Linked DNA regions of Homo sapiens: regions 2, 3, 4, 5 and 6 are each linked to region 1. Evidence: promoter capture Hi-C in human tissues and cell types (Jung and others, 2019). All regions are on one chromosome and are shown on one strand. The core of a region is centred on a gene start or on the middle of the fragment in contact, and the rest is flanking DNA. Distances in the headings are between cores, read along the strand shown. Region 1 holds the start of MRPL38 (mitochondrial ribosomal protein L38). Region 2 holds the start of LOC124904120 (small nucleolar RNA U13). Region 3 overlaps QRICH2 (glutamine rich 2). Region 4 holds the start of RNF157 (ring finger protein 157). Region 5 overlaps RNF157 (ring finger protein 157). Region 6 overlaps RNF157 (ring finger protein 157).

What was found. The method cuts DNA at HindIII sites, captures the fragments that hold promoters and counts their contacts. A contact is called where the count stands out against the background at its distance.
Region 2: a fragment that was not itself captured here is called in contact with the fragment with the promoter of MRPL38 in region 1 in 1 of the 25 tissues and cell types used here (dorsolateral prefrontal cortex).
Region 3: a contact is called between a fragment that was not itself captured here and the fragment with the promoter of MRPL38 in region 1, in 2 of the 25 tissues and cell types used here (lymphoblastoid cells and spleen).
Region 4: a contact is called between the fragment with the promoter of RNF157 here and the fragment with the promoter of MRPL38 in region 1, in 1 of the 25 tissues and cell types used here (adrenal gland).
Region 5: a contact is called between a fragment that was not itself captured here and the fragment with the promoter of MRPL38 in region 1, in 2 of the 25 tissues and cell types used here (dorsolateral prefrontal cortex and spleen).
Region 6: a fragment that was not itself captured here is called in contact with the fragment with the promoter of MRPL38 in region 1 in 6 of the 25 tissues and cell types used here (H1 embryonic stem cells, lymphoblastoid cells, mesendoderm cells and 3 more).

Annotation. Positions count from the first base shown.
Region 1 is chr17:75,903,287-75,906,791 of GRCh38, forward strand. It overlaps MRPL38 (mitochondrial ribosomal protein L38), which reads right to left and starts at 1,598. Exons shown (of 9, transcript NM_032478.4): 1 at 1,523-1,598; 2 at 1,254-1,433. The coding sequence starts at 1,589. RefSeq lists silencers at 1,394-1,443, 1,464-1,513, 1,524-2,003. The HindIII fragment of the contact is 5,940 bases long and covers 1,269-3,505 here.
Region 2 is chr17:76,323,652-76,327,156 of GRCh38, forward strand. The region is part of intron 7 of PRPSAP1 (phosphoribosyl pyrophosphate synthetase associated protein 1); the gene reads right to left. LOC124904120 (small nucleolar RNA U13) reads left to right here and starts at 545; the gene lies at 545-648. The HindIII fragment of the contact is 3,003 bases long and covers 323-3,325 here.
Region 3 is chr17:76,283,462-76,286,966 of GRCh38, forward strand. The region is part of intron 7 of QRICH2 (glutamine rich 2); the gene reads right to left. Among named protein-coding and RNA genes, the nearest start is that of UBALD2, 20 kb to the left of the region's middle. The HindIII fragment of the contact is 8,859 bases long and covers 1-3,505 here.
Region 4 is chr17:76,238,238-76,241,742 of GRCh38, forward strand. RNF157 (ring finger protein 157) reads right to left here and starts at 2,256. Exons shown (of 19, transcript NM_052916.3): 1 at 1,916-2,256. The coding sequence starts at 2,003. It overlaps LOC105371896 (a long non-coding RNA gene), which reads right to left. Exons shown (of 6, transcript XR_007065913.1): 6 at 2,625-3,505. RefSeq lists an enhancer at 1,224-1,896 and silencers at 2,201-2,340, 2,361-2,430. The HindIII fragment of the contact is 11,074 bases long and covers 1-3,505 here.
Region 5 is chr17:76,214,353-76,217,857 of GRCh38, forward strand. All of the region lies in intron 1 of RNF157 (ring finger protein 157), which reads right to left. Among named protein-coding and RNA genes, the nearest start is that of RNF157, 24 kb to the right of the region's middle. The HindIII fragment of the contact is 4,066 bases long and covers 1-3,505 here.
Region 6 is chr17:76,175,455-76,178,959 of GRCh38, forward strand. All of the region lies in intron 2 of RNF157 (ring finger protein 157), which reads right to left. Among named protein-coding and RNA genes, the nearest start is that of FOXJ1, 36 kb to the left of the region's middle. The HindIII fragment of the contact is 4,379 bases long and covers 1-3,505 here.

The DNA of each region.
Region 1 (3,505 bases), core at 348-2,847:
TAGTGTCAGCTACTTTGGAGGCAGAAGCAGGAAAATCGCTTGAACCCAGGAGGCAGAGGTTGCAGTGAGTCATCGCACCACTGCACTCCAGCCTGGGCAACAGAGCGAGCCTCTGCCTTAAAACAAAACAAAACAAAATAATAATAACGAAAACATACTGAGCCCTCATCAGAGATGGCATTAGGCAAAAATGCCAATGAATTGCCTCTTTTAATCCTCACAGCAATTTTGTAGCAAAGACACAATTATTTTATTTTACAGTTGAAACAAGCTCAAGGACATTATCCGAGAGGCTGAGCTAGGATTTAAATCGGGCTATTTAGATTCCACGCTTGTGCCTTTAACCACCACAAAACTGCCTCTATAAATGCTAAAGAAAAGAAAAGAAAAGAAAAGCATATACTCCATAAATTGTAAGTTCCTTAAAGGTTGGGGTCTTTTTTTTTTTTTCTTTTTGAGACGGAGTTTCGCTCTTGTTGCCCAGGCTGGTGTGCAATGGCGCGATCTCGGCTCACCGCAACCTCTGCCTCCTGGGTTCAAGCGATTCTCCTGCCTCAGAGGCCTCCCGAGTAGCTGGGATTACAGGCATGCGACACCACGCCCAGTTAATTTTGTATTTTTAGCAGACACGGGGTTTCTCCATGTTGGTCAGGCTGGTCTCGAACTCCCGACCTCAGGTGATCCGCCCGCCTAGGCCTCCCAAAGTGCTGGGATTACAGGCGTGAGCCACCGCGCCCGGCCAGGTTGGGTTCTTTTTTGAGTCACCCTGCCCAGGCCTTTAATTTCATTCAGCAAAGTATTGCACATGTACATCCTTGCACTGTTCGGGTGCAAGGATCCAATGGAGGGCAAGACAAGCAGGATCCCTGTCAACAGGGCGCTTACAATCTGGGGAGAGGCAGCGCACAGTCAGAATGCAGTGTGGCCAGAGTTACCTACAGAGTATTTGAGGCGCACAGAACGGCATCCCAATCCGGAAAGTCAGGTGGTCAAGATTTTAGGAGCAAATATTTTAGGAGCTGGAACTCTAATAGTAGGGGGAGCGAATTTTCCAAGAATGAGGTGCAGAAGGTGTGAAAAATCCTGGGGTGATTAAGCTGCCGATAGCGCACACAGGTCTGCAGGCAGGCCCTCCCAGCGTCCCCAGCATCCACAAGGGCGCCGGCAAGGCTCGCCCAGCGCCCGGGGAAAACGCCGGCGGGTCCCGAGTTCCCCGGGCGGTGGCTGCAGCCCCTGCTCCAGTCGCCCCGCACCTGTCTTCTCCCCGAAATACTCTCGGTAGGTCCGCCACCAGTGCGGGGCCTGCGCCTCCTGCTCTGCTCGGCGCCGGTAGCGGTCGAAGCTCCGGTACTTCTCCAGCCGCTCCAGGTTGCTCAAGTCGATGTCACTGTTGGGCATCGGCCCCAGCGGGGGTGTCCGGCGGCCCAGGACGGCTGCGGGCAGAGAGAAGACGTAAGGCCGGCGCCCCACAGCTCGGGCGACAGCCCCCCCCCCCCCCCCCGCAGAGCTGCCCACCCCTCACCCGAGGTGCTGAAGCCCCGCCATCTCCGACACTCGCACAGCGCGGCTCGCCACCAGGGCGCCGCCATCTTCCCTCCGGCCTGCGACACTGCGGCCGCCACTAGGACCCGGGCACAGGTGGCCAGCGCGGTGCCTGAGCGCACCACAGCAGGCCCCGCCCCTAGGCCCGCCCCCGGGCCCGCGCTGCGGAGCAGGCCTCAGACGCCTGTCCCGGAGGCCCCTGCACCGTCTGCCTCGGGCGCAGGTGGAAGGTGGCCGCGGTCTGTAGACGCCCGGCTCCGGAAGTGCCCGTTGGACGGCGGGGCGGAGCCGAGAGCAGTCATATGCTCGCCCATGGCTGGCCACCAGGGGGCGGCACAGACCGGGGTCGGCCGCCGGGGCCCTCCTCCAACCCCTGGACGCTGCGTCCTGATTTCCCCAGGGACGCAGGCCTGGTTGGGAGAAGGGGTGCGAGCTCCGATTCCGGACTCTGCTTGGGTTTAAAACCCAGATTGAGGGCTGGGCGCGGTGGCTCACGCCGGGAATCCCAGCACTTTGGGAGGCCAAGGCGGGTGGATCACGAAGTCAGGAGATCGAGACCATCCTGGCCAACACGGTGAAAACCCGTCTCTACTCAAAATACAAAAATTAGCCGGGCGTGGCATACGCCTGTAATCCCAGCTACTCGGGAGGCTGAGGGAGGAGACTCGCTTGAACCTGGGAGGCAGAGGCGGAGGCTGCAGTGAGCCGAGATCGCGCCACTGCACTCCAGCATGGGCGACAAAAGTGAAAACTCTATTTCAATAATAATAATAATAATAAAATAATAGTAATAAAAACCCAGATTGTGGCTGGGCGCGGTGGCTCATACCTGTAATCCCAGCACTTTGGGAGGCCGAGGTGGGCGGATCATCTGAGGTAATTAGTTTGAGACCAGCCCTACGAACATGGCAAAACCCTAAAGATACAAAAATTTTTGTATCTCTACTAATGATACAAAAATTAGCCGGGCGTGGTGGCAGGCGCCTGTAATCCCAGCTACTCAGGAGGCTATGGCACAAGAATTAACTTGAACCCGGGAGGCAGAAGCTGCAGTGAGACGAGATTGCGCCACCACCTCGGTGCCAGAGTGAGACACCGTCTCAAAATGCCCCTCCCCCCCCCCAAAAAAAAACCAGATCGTGACCTTACTGTCTTCCTTGTGGTTTCCTCATTTGGGAAAAAGCAGGTTAACACTAGTGCTTACCTGACAGCTGTCAGGATGAAAAGATTACCCTCTGGAAAGCGCTCGCAGTGGTTTGTGTGTTAGCTCAACTATCTCCAACTTCTCATTATCCACACAAAGGCAGAAGTGACCTGGTTAAGTGCAGATGTGAATGTTTCTGGCAGGACTCAGGCTTGCCCTTGTGATCCAGTTCTACCATGGCAAAACTTGGTAGCCTGGGGAATCTGGGACCCTCCTTTGCCCCAGCCCTGGCCCTCCTGCCCTAAAAGGCAAGACTTTTCCATCGCACTTTGCCTCCAGGCCACGGGGCCTTTGTATACGCTGTGTCTTCTGCCTCTCACCTCCTCACTGCCCCACCTTGGCCTGGCCACCACCCAGCCCCAGGAGAGGGGTCTCTCCAGGAAGCCTGCTCTGACATCCCAGGCCAGGGCTGGTGGTGACCAGGCCAGTGGCTCTGGCACCAGCAGAAGCTTGACCCTCACAATCACTTTGAGATGGAATGAGAATGGAATGAGGGTCTCTCCATCCAGCAGGAAGTGGCCACACCTTCCACTGGTTTTCATAAACAGCAGCCAAACAGCTAAACCTTTCACAGTCATTTCTAATCCACCCAGCAGTGTGCACCTGCTACATGCTAAGTGTGGAGGGGAATACGTGGGGCAGTCACACCCAGTCCTGCTCGTAAGGAGTTGCTTATTGTGACATTCCATACTGCAGTTATGCAGTACAGGAGCATAACTGGATTGTGTGTTTACATCGTGGCTGTTTTACCTTGTCCTT
Region 2 (3,505 bases), core at 574-3,073, 420 kb after region 1:
AATCTTATGATAAAACTGTAATGGATAAGGAGTTGCTTTGATAGATAAGCAAAGAAGGTTTTTTGTTTTTTTTTTTGAGATGAATCTACTGCTGAAGATGCTGTGAACTCTGCTGAAATGAAAACAAGGATTTAGAAGTATTACAAAAATTATTTGATAACACAGTGGCAGGGTTTGAGAACAGTGACTACAATTTTGAAAGTAGTTCTTTCGGCTGGGCGCAGTGGCTCACGCCTGTAATCCCAGCACTTTTGGAGGCCGAGGCGGGCAGATCACCTGAGGTCAGGAGTTCGAGACCAGCGTGGCTGACATGGTAAAACCCTGTCTCTACTAATAATACAAAAATTAGGCGGGTGTGGTGGCACACATCTGTAATCCCAGCTACTCGGGAAGCTGAGGCAGAATTGCTTGGACCCAGGAGGCAGAAGTTGCAGGGAGCCGAGATGGTGCCACTGCACTCCAGCCTGGGCAACAGAGTGAGACTGTCTCAAAAAAAAAAAAAAAGAAAGTAGTTCTTTCTTCTAGGTAAAATGCTATCAAACAGATCATTTTGTAGTTCATAAGTGTGATCATTGGGTGTTCACGCTTACATGTGAGATGTGCCATCCTTGAACCTTGTTAGAACATCAGTACATCACCTGGCTGACATTTTAAAAAATGCTGTCAGCCGGGCGCAGTGGCTCACGCCTGTAATCCCAGCACTTTGGGAGGCTAAGGCGGGTGGATCATCTGAGGTCAGGAGTTCCAGACCAGCCTGACCAACATGGTGAAACCCTGTCTCTACTAAATACAAAAAAAATTAGCCAGGTGTGGTGATGCATACCTATAATCCCAGCTACTTAGGGAGGCCGAGGCAGGAGAATCACTTAAATCCAGGAGGTGGAAGTTGCAGTGAGCCAAGACTGCACCACTGCACTCCAGCCTGGGCAACAAGAGCGAAAACTCCATCTCAAAAAAAAAAAAGCTATAAAACAGCATTACATGCTACAGAAAGATCTTTTGTGAAAGGAAGAGTCAATCAACGAGGCAAACTTCGTTGTTTTAAGAAATTGCCACAGCTGAGCACAATCACTCTTGCCTGTAATCCCAGCTACTCAGGAGGCTGAGGTATAAAAATTGCCTGAGGCTGGCAGGGTGCAGTGGCTCACTCCTGTAATCCCAGCACTTTGGGAGGCCAAGGCGGGCGGATCATGAGGTCAGGAGATCGAGACCATCCTGGCTAACATGGTGAAACCCCATCTCTACTAAAAATACAAAAAAAAAAAAATTAGCCAGGTGTGGTGGCAGGCACCTGTAGTCCCAGCTACTTGGGAGGCTGCGGCAGGAGAATGGTGTGAACCTGGGGGGTGGAGCTTGCAGTGAACTGGGTGAACCACTGCACTCCAGCCTGGACGACAGAGAGAGACTCGTCTCAAAACAAAAAAAAAAAAAAGAAAAGAAAAATTGCCTGAGGCCAGGAATTCAAGACCAACCTGGGTCCGGGCACAGTGGTTTACGCCTGTAATCCCAGCACTTTGGGAAGCCGAGGCGGGCGGATCATGAGGTCAGGAGATGGAGACCATCCTGGCTAACTCGGTGAAATGCCGTCTCTACTAAAAATACAAAAAATTACCCGGGCGTGGTAGCGGGTGCCTGTAGTCCCAGCTATTCGGGAGGCTGAGGCAGGAGAATGGCGTGAACCCGGGAGGCGGAGCTTGCAGTGAGCTGAGATCGCGCCACTGCACTCCAGCCTGGGCGACAGAGCGAGGAGACTCAGTCTCAAAAAAAAAAAAAAAAAAAAAAAAAAGACCAACCTGGGAAACAGACCCCATCTCTTAAAAAAAAGAAAGAAAAGAAATTTCCACAGCCCATCCCAACTTTCAACAACCACCACCCTGATCAGTCAGCAGCCATCAACATCGAGGCAAGACCCTCCACCAACAAGATGGAGGCTCAGATGACTGCTAATTTTTTTTTTTTTTTTTTGAGACAGAGTCTCGCTCTGTCACCCAGGCTGGAGTGCAGTGGCGCGATTTCAGCTCACTGTAAGCTCCACCTCCATTCTCCTGCCTCCATGCCATTCTCCTGCCTCAGCCACCCGGTAGCTGGGACTACAGGCGCCCGCCACTACGCCCGGCTAATTTTTTGCATTTTTTTAGTAGAGACGCGATTTCACAGTGTTAGTCAGGACGGTCTCGATCTCCTGACCTCGTGATCTGCCCGCCTCAGCCTCCCAAAGTGCTGGGATTACAGGCCTGAGCCATTGCGCCTGGCCAACTGCTAGTATTTTTTAGCAGTAAAGTATTTTTAAATTAAGGTACGTACATTGGTTTTTAGACACAATGATATTGAGCATTTAACAGACTACAGTATAAACATAACTTTTACATGTGCTGGGACATCAAAAAATTCATGAGACTCACTTTATTATAATATTCACCTACTGCAATGGTGCAGAACTGAACCTGCAATATTTAAGGTATTCCTGTGACGACAATGAATTATAACCCACTGAATGAAATAGGCCTATGAATCCATACTGATATAAATGAAGAAATGAATAGGGAAGAAGAGAAAGCTTTCTTGCATTAGAAGGTCAACTAATAAATGTAGAAGGAATGATAGAGTTAGAAAAATGAACACTGACAACAATCACAGTCAATAATTGATTCAGGCAAGAATCATCAGTAGATGTTCATTTTGATGAGAAGCAGAATATTTACAGTTAAAACATAGTCTTAACATGAGGTAGTATTAATTACAAAGAGGAAAAAAAAAAGAGTAACTTTACAGTGGAGAAACCTGCCAGAGAAACCTTAACCAACTTATCAGAATGCACATCACCAGTAATGGGACACATCATGTGTTTCCTGTGATTTTCTGCCAAAAATGCATAACCTGAATCTAATCCTGAGGACACAAACAAGCCCCAATTAAGGGAGAGTCTACAAAATCACTTGATCGCACTGTTCAAAAGTATCAAGGTCATAAGAAACAAAGAATAAAGCAGCCACTCCAGATTAAATGAGACTAAAAAGAAATGACAACTAAATGCAATGTGTGACCCTGGGTTAGGTCTTGAACAAGAAAACAAGTTTATTCTTTTGCTCTAAAGGACACTGCTGGGACCACTGGTGAAACCTGAGTAAGGTCTGTAGATTACAGTGTTACAGCAATGTTAGCTTCCTGAGTCTGATAATGATACTCTGGTTATATAAGAGTCTTTTGTCTTTACAAATATACACGAAGGTATTTAGGAATGAAGGGACATTACGTCTGCAACTCACCCTCAAATGGTGGAAAAAAAAAAACCCCATGTATATAAATGTTAAATTTGGGGACTCCGAGTGAAGAGCATATGCTGGAAATCTGTACTATTCTTTCAACTTTAAGTCTAAAGTCAGTTGAAAATAAAAAGCTAAAAATGCAGATTACGGCTTGGCACGGTGGCTCACACCTGTAATCCCAGCACACTGGGAGGTCGAGGCAGGCGGATGACCTAAGGTTAGCAGCTCGAGACCAGCCT
Region 3 (3,505 bases), core at 530-3,029, 380 kb after region 1:
TGGACTGACAGGTGACTCTTAAACGCTCCCAGCTGCTCCTCAGGCAGGACTCCTGGCCCGGGGTCATGACATGGGGCACACCACAGTTCCAGCAACTTGGGAGCCTGGAATGTGGCTCAAAGCACAAAGCGGGCCAGGCACGTGGCTCACGCCTGTAATCCCAGCACTTTGGGAGGCCAAGGTGGGTGGATCACCTGAGGTCAGGAGTTTGAGACCAGCCTGGCTAACATGGTGAAACCCCATCTCTACTAAAAATACAAAAATTATCCAGGTGTGCTGGTGGGTGCCTGTAGTCTCAGCTACTTGGGAGGCTGAGGCAGGAGAATTGCTTGAACCTGGGAGACGGAGGTTGCAGTGAGCTGAAATCATGCCATTGGACTCCAGCCTGGGCAACAAGAGCGAAACTCTGTCTCAAAAAAAAAAGCGGGGTGCAGTGGCTCATGCCTATAATCCTAGCACTTTGGGAGGCCAAGGCAGGTGAATGACCTGAGGTCAGGAGTTCAAGACCGGCCTGACCAATGTGGTGAAACCCTGTATCTACTAAAAATACAAAAAAATTACCCAGGCATGGCGGTGTGCACCTGTAGTCCCAGCTACCCAGGAGTCTGAGATAGGAGAATCACTTGAACCCGGGAGGTGGAGAATGCAGTGAGCTGAGATGGTGCCACTGCACTCCAGCCTGGGCAACAGAGCAAAACTCTGTCTCCAAAAAAAAAAAAAAAAAAAAAAAAAAAATGCACAAAGAGGTTCCTGACATGAACCCGCTTGGCCCAGTGGCTTTTCCTAGGTGGTTCTTCTGTGAGCACTCAGAGGGCTGCTCCTGATTCAGACAATCCTTAGTGAGAAAATGACCAAGAATTGCATTGCAAGGCTTAAAGACAGACACTGTCAAGAAAATGAAAAGATGACCCACAGAATGGGAGAAAATATTTGCAAGTCATCTATCAAATAAGAGTGTAGCATCCAGAACATGTAAAGAGCTCTTTCAACTCAACAATAAAATGACAAATAACTCACCTGAAAAAATGGATGAAGGATTTGGATATGTATATTTTATCTCTAAAGAAAGTATACAGGCCAGGCGTGGTGGCTCACGCCTGTAATCCCAGCACTTTGGGAGACCGAGGCGGGTGGATCACGAGGTCAGGAGTTCAAGACCAGCCTGGCCAAGAAGGTGAAACCCCGTCTCTACTGAAAATACAAAAAATTAGCCGGGTGCAGTGGCAGGCGCCTGTAATCCCAGCTGCTTGGGAGGCTGAGGCAGGAGAATCACTTGAACTCAGAGGGCGGAGGTTGCAGTGAGCTGAGATTGCGCCACTGCACTCCAGCCTGACAACAGAGTGAGACTCCGTCTCAAAGAAAAAAAAAAAAGATGAAAAAGAAAGTATACAAATGGCCAAAAAGCACATGAAAAGATGCTCAGCATCTTTAGTCACTAGGGAAACGCACATCAAAACTATAATGAGATCCCACCTCACACCCACTAAAGTGGCTATAATTTTTTTTTTTTTTTGAGACAGGGTCTCGCTGTCACCCAGGCTGGCGTCCAGTGGCGCGATCATGGCTCACTGCAACCTCCGCCTCCCAGGTTCAAGTGATTCTCCTACCTCAGCCTCCTGAGAAGGTGGGATTACAGGTGTGCACCACCACACCCAGCTATTTTCTGTTGTTGTTGTTGTTGTTGTTTTTGAGATGGAGTCTCGCTTTTTCACCCAACCTGGAGTGCATGGTGCGATCTCAGCTCACTGCAACCTCTGCCTCCCAGATTCAAGTGATTCTCCTGCCCCAGCCTCCTGAGTAGCTGGGATTACAGGCACGTGCCACCTCGCCCGGCTAATTTTTGTATTTTTTTAGTAGAGACGGGGTTTCACCATGTTGGTCAGGCTGGTCTCGAACTCCTGACCTCGTGATCCACCCGTCTGGGCCTCCCAAAGTGCTGGGATTACAGGCGTGAGCCACCACACCTGGCCTATTTTCTGTATTTTTAGTAGAGATGGGGTTTCATCATGTTGGCCAGGTTGGTCTCCAACTCCTGACCTCAAGTGATCTACCTGCGTCGTCCTCCCAAAGTGCTGGGACTACAGGCGTGAGTCACCGCAGCCGGCCCCACACAAAAACTTATACATGAGGCCAGGCCAGTACTTTGGGAGACCGAGGCGGGTGGATCACCTGAGGTCAGGAGTTTGAGACCAGCCTGGCCAACATGGTGAAACCCCATTCTCTCCTAAAAATACAAAATTACCTGGGCATGGTGGCAGGCACCTGTAATCCCAGCTACTTGGGAGGCTGAGGCAAGAGAATCACTTGAACCCAGGAGTTGGAGATTGCAGTGAGCCAAGATCGTGCCATTTCCCTCCAGCCTGGATAACAAGAGCGAAACTCCATCTCCAAAAACAAAACAAAATAACAACAAAAAAACAACTTATTATGGCCAGGTGCGGTGGCTCACGCCTATAATCCCAGCACTTTGGGAGGCCAAGGCGGGCAGATCACAAGGTCAGGAGATTGAGACCATCCTGGCTAACACAGTGAAACCCCGTCTCTGCTAAAAATATTTTGAAAAATTAGCCGGGCGTGGTGGCAGGTGCCTGTAGTCCCAGCTACTCGGGAGGCTGAGGCAGGAGAATGGCAGGAACCCGGGAGGCAGAGCTTGCAGTGAGCCGAGATCGTGCCACTGCACTCCAGCCTAGGCGAGAGAGCAAGACTCCGTCTCAAAAAAAAAAAATGTATACATGAATGTGCATAGCAGCATTATTCATAATAGCCAAAGGATGGAAACAACCCAGATGTCTTTCAACTGATGACTAGATAAAGAAATTGTGGCATAGACGCAGAATGGAATGCTATGAAGCCATAAAAAAGAATGGAGTATTGACACATGCTACAACATGGATGAGCCTTGAAAACATCATGCTAAGTGAAAGAAGCCAGATACAAAAGTGTATGTTGCATGATTCCATTTATATGAAATGTCCAGAATAGACAAATCCATAGTGGCAGAAAGCAGGTTCGTGGTTGTCAGGGGCTGAGGGACAGAAGGGAACAGGGAGAGACTGCTAAGAGTCACAGGGTTCTTTCTGGGGTGATTAAATGTTTTGGAATTAGATTGTGGTGATAGTTGCACAACTTTGTACTAAAAACTACCTTATTCAATTTAAAAGGGTGAATTCATTGATATATGATTATATCATAAAAAAGATAGGGAAAGATCGTGATCAGCCTGGCCAAAATGGTGAAACCCCGTCTCTACTAAAAATACAAAAATTAGCTGGGCGTGGTGGCATATGCCTGTAGTCCTGGCTACTCAGGAGGCTGAGGCAGGAGAATTGCTTGAACCTGGGAGGCGGAGGTTGCAGTGAGCCAAGATGGCGACACTGCACTACAGCCTGGATGACGAGAGCGAAATTCCATCTCAAAAAAAAAAAAAAAAAAAGATAGGGAAAGATCGAATGGGAGGTAAACAGGTGTTGTAGGGGTTCCTTTCCCTTGCCACTTGTGGACTCAG
Region 4 (3,505 bases), core at 1,006-3,505, 340 kb after region 1:
TATGCAAGCTCACATAAGGTTTCAAATACACAAAGGTTTGCTGACAGAGACAGGATGTTCTGATTCTATTTTCTATGTTTTAGCTTCAACAGAAATAATGTGGTCCACTTGCTATAAAGACTTCTCTCATGTATAACTTCTGATTTAACATGAATTACAGTTTTACAGTTAAACTTTTAAAACTGGTAGAGAGGAGAGGATTATTTATTGAGTGTGCTAATTAACAAAAGTTTTGGTTTGGTCTATTGTCTTTTTATTATCATCACCCAAGATTCATACTTGTACAAATATGCTTTGGGGAACAGCCTTCCAGAGGTTTACCTATGTTAAGTCCCACATATGAAAGAGCGGTGAATACTTTCCTGAGGCAGCAAACACTATTGAAAATTCCAAGCTCAGCAAAGTATGCTCCATATTTTGATCAATAAAAGCCATGTGGTTTAAGAAAAACAGAGCCCACAAATACTGCTGCATATTTTTGTCTATTTTAAAAAGTTTTCCTCATGCCGCCCTAAGAATATTTTTGTCTATTAAAAAACAAAATCTATGCCTTGGTTAGCGTTGATTTTATGTAGTCATAATCAGTCAGAGCTTTATTAAAATACTAACGACCCACAGCTTTATCTTAGACCTTTCTAAAACAATTCTTCACCATATTCATCTTTGCAAGGATTCATTCTTTGGTACAAAAGCAGTGAGAAACACAGCTCTGGCAGACACTCTGCAGGGATGCGGGCAGGTTCATCGTCTGGCCCCTGCTTTCACCTGGCAGACACTGGACACACTGCTGAGAAACCAGCTCATCTCAGTATGTCTCTATTCTACCAAAAAGAGACGAGGCTCTGCTCCAATTCTGACACCTCATTCCGAAATCACCAAAATCTCCATCGGGTCCTAAGCAGACAGAATGTCGCAGCCATTCATCCTCAGAAGTCTTGAGAATAAAATTAAAAGTAATTAATTAAAATAAAACTACTTGCAATTAAAAGTAAACACCGGCTAGGTCATGCAATTCATACTGGCCGGTGCTCACATAACTGAACTACCTTGTGATTCTCTGCTTTGCTGTCAAAATCCTCCTCCACCTCCAATGCTGATACCACAATCCAGAGGCTAGAGACATTTAAGTGAAGGGATGATTCTAATAACAAACATACTTCTATACGTTTCCAATACCTCTGCCCTGTCCCAGAGCTGGTCCCACTCCAAAACCCAGGCTTGCCACTACGCTAGCAAAGGGGCAATCCGAGTAACTCTGATACTCAGATTCCCAAACATTTCTGTTACTTTCCACCACCACCACCCCCCCCACCCCCCGGCTTCTGACAGCCTCTGCAAAAGCACCAGCACTGCAAATGCCTGTTTGGCTTCCATCCTTCAGCAGGCAATGGAAGCTTTTCCAGGAGAAACCTAATTCTAACCTTTCCAGAGGCCAGGAGACGGCAGCGCAGGGATAGCACCTGGCGCAAGTGCCTGTTTGGATGCCGAGGTCGCCTCCCTCGCGGCCCTCGGACCCCGCGAGGCAGGTAGGCTTTGGGCCGGGCCGGCCGGGTCCGTGCGGGGCGCCGACCTCGCCTACGACGCCGCAGCCCCGCTCCCCAGGAGCCTCGGTCCCTGCGGGCACGCGTCCCCGTCACGGGGCCGATTACAATGGAGGCCGCTCCCGTCCTCCCGTGGAGGGGCTCGGTGCCCTCGGTGACCCTGCTAGACCCGGCAGGACGCCCCTTGGGCTAATTCGCCCGGGGCGGGGGAGACCTCGGCCTTCTCGAAGACCTCCCGCGCTCGAAGACCGTTTCGGAGCGTCCGCAACCACTGAGTCCCCGAAGACCCGCGGGGCCCCCTCAGGCCGTCCCGACCCAGACCCCTGCCCCTGCCCCTCTCCCTCCTCGCGGCTGCGGCGCCCGCCCGCCCTCACCGGACTTGGGCGGGTAGCGGTACACGGAATTAGACGGGATGTCCACCTCCTCCACGCCCGCGTGCTGCCGGCTCGTCAGGGCCCCCATGGCCGCTGCGGCTGCAGCCCCGGCCCGGCCCCGGTGCCCGCGCCGCCCTCCGCGCTTCACCGCGGCCGCCCGCCCCGCGCCCGGTGCGGGGGCCGACTGCCCGCCGCGGCCGGCTCCGCTGCGGCGCTGCGGCTCTGGCGGCGGGGAGCCCCCGGCGCGCCGCGCACCATCCTCCGCCGGGCACCGCGGCGGCGCCTCTGCCAAGGGGGCTGCGGGTCTGGGCCGGGGGCGCCGCCGCCGCCTCAGGCCGCGTGATGTCAGCGGCCGCTCCGCGCGGGGACCGCGGCGGCCCCAGCCAATGGCGAGGCGGGGCGGGAGCGCCCGCGCCGGAGCAGCCAATGAGCGCGGGACTGCAGCAGGAGCCGGCGGCGCGTGCCTCGCGCGGGGAGCCGCGGCTGGACTCGGCGCGCGTGGACGCGGCCCAGGGCCTCGCGGCGGGGGCGTGGGCGTGGGCGGGGACTCGCGACGGGGACGGGGGCGCGGCCGGGTGCCCGCGGCGGGGCGGGGCGGGACCGGCCGGAGCTGGGACCCCAGGAGACGAGCGCTGCACCCGGCCGGGACGCGTCGCCCCTCCGCGCCTGTTTATCCCGGCTCGGATTACCGCGCAGGGAGCCGCCCCCTCCCGCGGTCCGCGAGGACTGGCCGGGAGCTCGCTCGCCATTGTCCTGGGCGTCCCAAAGCGGGCGGTCCCCGCTCCGCTGCTCCCGCGCCTGGAGGAAGCCTTCCCAACCCCGCCCCTCAGCGTCGGCCGGCGGAGGTCTTCGGAAATCTCATGCAGGGGGGTAGGGAGAGGGGTCCCACGGTGCATTCGCATGTCTCCTGCCCCGTGTTAATGCTGGTGACCGGCTAGGAAGATGCCGCCTCCCTCTCACGTGCGTCTATTCAAAGCGCTCCCAACTCTATACATGCTGTTTAAGGCTCCTTGTAGCCCTAAAGTTAGGAGAACATCGACTGAGGATAAGATCAAGACATCCAGCCTCTGTCTGTATCGTGGAAACGGGACCCCGGAAACTTTGGAAAGGCCTGAGTGCCAAGAGAGTCAACGCAGGCGAAAGCGAACCGGGCCAGGCAGAACCGGGAGCTCCTGTTGATAAAAACACACACAACAGTGGGAAGCTTGGGCCGGCGGAAGACGTCATTCCATTGCTTAATTACAGACATTTGTGTTTTAAACCTTCTATTTTCTTTGTGGGTCTGGTGTTTTTTTTCCTGAGAGAGTGGACTGATCAGCAAACATTTCAACTGCTAGAACATGACTTTCACAACTTTTCAACAGTGTTCGAAGTACAGTTTGGGGTGTCTGGTTCCCTTGATTAGGTTTGTAAAGCTATTTTACGGAGTCTAGGTCTTTCCTGGTTATATTTTGTTTTTGTTTTTCTGTGTTTTGAGACGGAGTCTCCCTCTGTCGCCCAGGCTGGAGTGCAGTGGCGTGATCTCAGCTCACTGCAACCTCCGCCTCCTGGGTTCAAGGGATTCTCCTGCCTCAGCCTCCCGAGTAGCTG
Region 5 (3,505 bases), core at 275-2,774, 310 kb after region 1:
GAGTTTTTTTCCTATATCCGCAGACGCACACATTTCTTTGCCTAGATTTTCATAAGCCAGCTTATACCTACACACAGAAGTCTCAGTACCCACCCACCACTACTGCTATACCTCCATAACCTTCTATGATGAAGGTTCTTCACACTTTAACTTGCTGCAAACATTATTGTTTCACAGGAAAATACGAATTTAGATAATACAGTTATCCCTGGCTTTCTCTACCAATTACTACACAGACTATGGTGTAAAATAAGGGGACAATTTAATGCTATGAAAGAAGGCTACACACATACCCTCTCCACCTCAAATTCATTAACAGTGCTAATGGCCAGAACTGCTGGGACATCAGTCATGGCAGGGCCCCTTTGCCCCTTCTTAATCAGCCAGGAGGCAGAAATATTTTCAGTGCAATATAATAACCAAATGAAATCAGCAGTCAGGGGCCAAAATTCCCATCAGCCTCATCCGGACAAACCAAGGAACTGTGACAGGATATGATGGAACTGAGAAGTCACCAAAGGAGGCTTAGGTTATGCTGAAAATTACATCTGGGAATACATTTTAAGTTTGATGATTAAACGAATGCCGCTTACCTCTAATTTCTATTATCTAATTCTCCCATGAAGGTAAGCTGTCCAAAGTAAAGGACACATCCCATAATATACCTTTATCAACACTCTCATATACCCCATTTCTGAAATTAACACAAGGAACTTATTAAGTGGCAAAAGGCTTGCTTGTGTATAATACATTGAGGATATACACAAACTCCCTAAATCAGTTGCAATTTTTGTTGAAGATTTGTAGCAGGCAGGGTGTGATGGATCTTGCCTGTAATCCTAAAACTCTGGATGGCTGAGGCAGGAGAATTGCTTTAGGCCAGGAGTTGGAGACCAGCTTGGGCAACTTAGCAAGCTTAGCAAGACCTTGTCTCTACTAAAAACAAAACAAAAAATAAATAAAAATACAAAAATTAGTTGGGCATGGTAGCATGCGTCTGGAGTTCTAGCTACTCAGAAGGCTGACGCAGAAGGGTCGCTTGAGTTCAGGAGTTCAAGGTTGCAGCGAGCTATGATTGCCACTGCACTCCAGCCTGGGTGACAGAGTGAGACCCTCTCTAAGAAAAAAAAAAGAAAGAAAGAAAAAAGAAAAGAAAAGAAAAAAGGAAAAAAAGATTTATAGCAAACTAAAAAAAAAAAAAAAATGAGATTCAGTACTTTGAGCCTGTGGAGAAGCCATAGGAAGGAAGACAGAGAAGAAAATTCTAGCAAAAACTGAACCAAACATTCATTTTTAAAACTTTCTACACAAGGAGCTTTAGTCTAGAAACATCTATTAAATAAAACAATGTGGATAAAATCACTCACCACAAAGTGAGGCAACTATTGAATTAAACAAGCAGGAAAACATTCTTTGAGAGTAATAATGCAACCCAGATCAAAGCAATCACTGAGGAACTACTGAAAGTCACCCATTAAAACTTAAAAAGACAAAGGGCAGCCATCTGATACAGTGATACAACAGCAGAATTCATCATTTAGGAAAGCTTAATTATCAATTATTTATGTCTGGCACTTGCTAGCCCTATTTTCCAAGTGCATAATTTATGGAGAGGGGAGGTACCTAGTTGCCTTAAGTAGAAGCAGCAATCTCAAATAATTTAAGTCATTTACTGATGAACTTCAGCAAGATATATTTTCTATGCATCAGGAATTATACATTTATCATATATTAGGTAAAATTGGAAAAGTTAAAGATGTTACACAGATGGATGGCTTGCCCAAATCATGAAAAAAGAAAGGGAGAGAAGAGAGTTTGATGTCTGGAATTGTCTAGGTTGACCTCAGTGTGGGACCACTGAGTTTCCAGTACCTGTGAGATCTCAGGGGAGGGATCTGGGGCAGTAAAAATCCATGGATGATTGGCTTAGAGGTGGCCATGATTGAACCTAGCGAGAGAGGACCCCTAATGATTTGGGGGCTAAAGAGTTAAAGCAGGCAACAGGGTTCGATTAGAAATGCCCTTTTATGCCATAATATTAAAAGAAAAGAAATGACCACAAAAGATGTGTAGAGCTAATTGTAGTTTTGCCTTGCATTAAAATCAAGAATAGTCTGGGTGTGGTGGCTCACACCTGTAATCCTAGCACTTTGGGAGGCCAAGGTGAGAGGATCACTTGAGCCCAGGAGCTCAAGACCAGCCTAGGCAACATGGTGAGGCTCTGTCTCTGTATATTTAAAAATAATAATAATAATAATACTATGGTATATTCAGTCAGTAGAGTATTATGAAGCCTTTCAAAGTGGTGTTGTAAATCTATATCTACTGACATTAAAAATGTTCACAATATATTATAATTAGACCCTTGTCTCGACAAAAAATTAAAAAATTAGCTGGGTATGATGGCCCAAGCCTGTGGTCCCAGCTACTCAATAGGCTGAGGTGGGAGGATCACTTGAGCCCAGGAGGTCAGGCCTGCAGTGAGCCATGACTGCGCCATTACATTCCAGTCTGGGTAAAAGAGCAAGACCCTGTGTCAAAAAAAAACAAAAACAAAAACAAAAAACAAACAAACAAACAAAAAACCCCATAAAAGCTATATAAGCTGTATACTTATAACTGGGAATGATTTTCTCAAAATTACAAAGTTGGCAAAATTGTTCTTACTTTTACTTAAAATTAGCTTGAACACCTGTTCAATCACTCAATAATTCTTTAGCAATATTAATTTCTAAACTTTTGGTTATTAAGGGGAAGACGCATAAAATGTGCAAGATTGTATGAATTAAAAAGAGCTCCCCAAACCTTCATCTATTTTTTGTTTGTTTTTGTTTTTCTGTAGAGATGGAGTTTCACCATGTTGGCCAGGCTGGTCTCAAACTCCTGGGTCAAGAGACCTGCCCGCCTCAGCCTCCCAAAGTGTTGGGATTACAGGTGTGAGCCACCGAGCCCAGCCATCCTCATCTGTTAAAAGGAAAAATAAATTTACTTATTGGTATTTCATTTTACAACCAAAAATTTGCTTTTTCCTTTCTTTGAAATGAACCCCTCTAGCAGCTTGCTTTCATTTAGACAAATGAGAAAAGCAAATCAGCCTTTTTCAGACTGAATAAAGCTTTCTACTTGCTCAGTCTTTCTAGAGGGACAAATTGGTGCACAGCTATGTATAGCTACTAGATCATCAGATACCAACACCAAACACATCAACAGTCCCCAAACAAGATGACTTTTAGACAGCTTATGCATATTTTTACTTCTTAACACAATGAACTGTGCTTCAAAATCAGTGGTGGGGGAAAAGAACTCTACTAAAGTACTTCTTTGCCTATTTGTTACCAGGAGAAACACGTCACTCACAGATAAACTGCAGAACTCAACTAAAATACACCCTTGCCTATTTGCTAACGGGAAAAAAACATATGTCACTAGTAGATAAACTTCGAGTGTTTCATTATTAGTGAGCTATAATTTATTAATCAAAACTCATATTCAGAATTCTTTGCAG
Region 6 (3,505 bases), core at 299-2,798, 270 kb after region 1:
CCTGCAAGCAGTGCATCAGGAGGCCTTGACATGGTAAAACTGAAATTCTAGTTCAGATCCCATCTGTGGCCTGTTTCTCCTCCCCCAACTTTCCTAGGCTGTCATACTAAAGGAATTTAAAACAATTTTTAAATAAGCTTAAGCAAAAAGTAATTAGGCAGGAAAATCCGACACAAACGCTAGTCTATTCTAAAGCCAAAATAAATGACTTTGGGATTAAAATTTTTTTCTGGAGTAGCAAAGTTAATCATTTTCATTTGTACAGGTACTTGGGCGTTATCCATAACTCCTACCTGCATTTCAAAAAAAAGATGCGTCTTTTCCCTTATTCTTTACTCTTTCTCCTCCATAGCCACTCCCTGCCGCAAAAGAGAGAAAAATAAAAAGAAAGAAAAAAAAATCCTGGCACTCTTTATCCTCCATTTTGAATATATTTGATGATAACTGTGGCAATGAAACATAAGCTATTTGGCTCTTAAGGAAAGGTATCAATGAGTTCAATTGTTTATAAATCCACCCCTATACTTTAGGCTCTCCCTGTACACACACATACACGCACAAGACAACAACGGCAAATCTGTTCAGGAGAAGCTTGTTCGTGGGCTGCTACCCACCAAAGTTTGTGCCTTGCTGGCCTTGCATTCATGCAATCAGAGTCTACATGCAACACTCCATGCCAGGAGTAAGGAGAGATTGAAAACCAAGAAGATAAGGCCCTGCTCTTTCAGGAAGCTGCATTATAAGGCAGCTGACATAGTAATTGTAATATCAAAGAGATTAAATATATGGATATTTTTTTGCCACAAAAGGCAAAAATAAAGGAAGTGATCATTTCTGGCTGAGGTAATCTGAAGGCTTCATGGAGGAGTTGGTAGTTGATCTGGGATCCTAAAGGATAAATGAAATTTGCAAATTCAGAGATAACAGAGAAGATGGAGGGGACAGTAGGATCAGAGGCAAATTAAAAAAAATTTTTTTTCTGCTCTTAGAGTTGTCTCCCATTCTTCTGTAAATCGATTTTGCCTACTATTACTCTCGAAATTTCTTAGTGAGTTATCTTCCTTTCAAAAATTACCATTTATTGAGTGCTTACTATTGATGACAGTGGTGGGCTGTCCAGAGCAGCCGCTGCCATCACAACGGCTGCTGCAGGGGGGTCGCAGGGAGCAGACAGACAGCCCCTCCACAGCTTGCCGCCCTGGAGGCCACCCCATGGGGCTGGCCGGGTTACCCACCAGCAGAGGAGCAGCGTGGCAGAAGAGCAGCGCGGTAGGGCAAAGAGGAGCCCCGAGGCGGAGCTGGGCCTTGGCCAGTGTCCCGCTTGCTCATGGAGCGCCAGGGCCAGGCCTGGGCGCGGAGCTGGGGCCATGCTTCAGGGGCCCCGGGCAGGAAGTGGGAGCAGCTTCCGCTTCGGGCACCTGGCCATTGGCGCAGCCACTGTGCCCACCCTGCCGAGGGTGCCAGGTTCCTGTGCCTCGGGAGGAGGTTCTGCGCAGCCCGTCTGGGGCTGCGCCCCCAGGTCTGCCCCACATTGGGGTGACCACTGAGCCTGACACTCCTGGGCAGATGGCCTGGCCCAGGCCCAGGCCCAGGATCCACTCTGTCCCAGACTGCCCGTGAAGCACCGGGGGAACAGGCAGAGCTCATGGCGATGTCACCCTGCCCTGGACACTGGCCCCGGCCCTGGCCCCGGCCCAGTGAGGACCTGGAGCCCCTGCCCCAGGCTGCAAGGGGGTGCTGCAGGGGCTGCATGCTCCACAGAGCCGGTGGAAGCCAGGAACAGGCAGCAGCCCCGCCTTGGGCTGTGGATCGGGGGCCTCCATAAGCTCTTGGAGACACGGAAAAGCCCTCCCACCCCCCCGCCCCAGCAGGCTCGGAAGTGCCTGCTCCTGCCGCCTAGCTTCTGCTTGCTCTTGGTGCTGGCTCTGATCTTAGAGCAGTGTGGGGCCAAGCCAAGGTGCTGTTGCAGCCAGGCTAGGAGTGCACATGCTCGGGGTAGCGCTGACAAGCCAGCCCCCTGCTGCCTCGGCCCCTTCCAGACTTTGGGCACTGATGAGCATGAGGGAAGGGGAAGGGGGAGAGGCGAGGGGGTGCTGAGGGCAGCTTGGTGCTGGCCTTCAGGGAGGACGTGAAGGCTGGGGGCCTGGCTGCCAGTCCCGCCCACTGGAGTGGGAACTTGTGTTGCCTTTTCTAGGCCTGCCCATGGATGCCCAGGGACCAGTCTACCTGCACTTCCTCCCCTCTGAGGCCCATAAAAGGCCCAGGCTCAGCCAGAACAGAGCAGAGGTTGGGACCACCAGCTGCAGAGAGGAGCAACCTACTCCAGTGCCTCCTCTCTGCTGATAGCTGCAGAGATGTCCATAAGACCAGCTGCAGAGAGGAGCTACGCACTCCAGGGCCTCCTCTCTGCTGAGAGCTGCAGAGAAGACAGGATGACCTTCCTGCGGAAAAGAGCTTCCCACTCCAGGGTCTCTATGCTAGGACACTTGTCAGGACACCCTGGCTGCGGAAAGAGCTACCCACTGCGGGTATCCTCTGAGCTGTTCCAAGGCTCAATAAGGCTCCTCTTCGTCTTGCTCACCCTATGTTTGTCTGTGTATCTCATTCTTCCTTGTTGCAGGACAAGAATTTTGGACCCATGGAATGGTGGGACTAAAAGAGCTGTAACACAAACAGGACTGAAACATGCTCCTTGCTTGTCATGTTGCAGGCAAAGAGGAGAGAAGAGCTGTGGCCCGTCGGGGAGCCCAGACCTGGGAGCTGCCCAAGCCAGGGCTATGACTTCCTCTTTGTGGCCCTGTAGTTCCTGGCATCTCCAAGCTTCCGGGTGCCACCACATTCCCTGGTGCCAACCGGGAGAGCTGCTTGCAGTGCACCTGGTCCAGCCACAGCCTCGCAGACAGCTGGCACCTATACTGGCACCTGGGGCTGCCAGCCCCACAGCGGCAGCTGGCGTGTCTGACTGCACAGTGGCCGGACCCCACTCTCGCTCACACACCCCTTGCTGCTCCATGCCTGACTTGCAGTCTCCCTTGGAGGCGTGGGATATAGGCTGGTAGTGTGAGCTGAGTGCAGCCTGTCAGGCCAAGTGGGTGGAAGAAGCCCAATGTGCCTGAGCCGAACCTGTGCAAGGCACCACTGGCCACAGGTTTCCAGCCAGAAAAGTGACACCCCAAAGATCACATAATACTATGTGCCAGGCACTATGCTGAGCTCTTTATTTATATTATCTTATTTAATCTTTGGAGGAATCCTGTGAAATAGTCATGGTTGTTCCCATTTTTGCAGGTAAGAAAACAGAGGTTGCAAAGAGGTTGAAAAACTTCTCTAAAGTCCCCCAAGTTTTAGGGAGCAGAGGTTATTTTTCTCTCTTTTTTTTTTCCAGTAACTAACATGTCTTAAAGGGAGCAGAGTTGAGGTTTGAACACGTTCTACCTTTATCTTTCCCCAAGACGCTCTGGATGCAGCTTTTTAATCTAGAGATGAGATTTCCAAGGATTAAAGT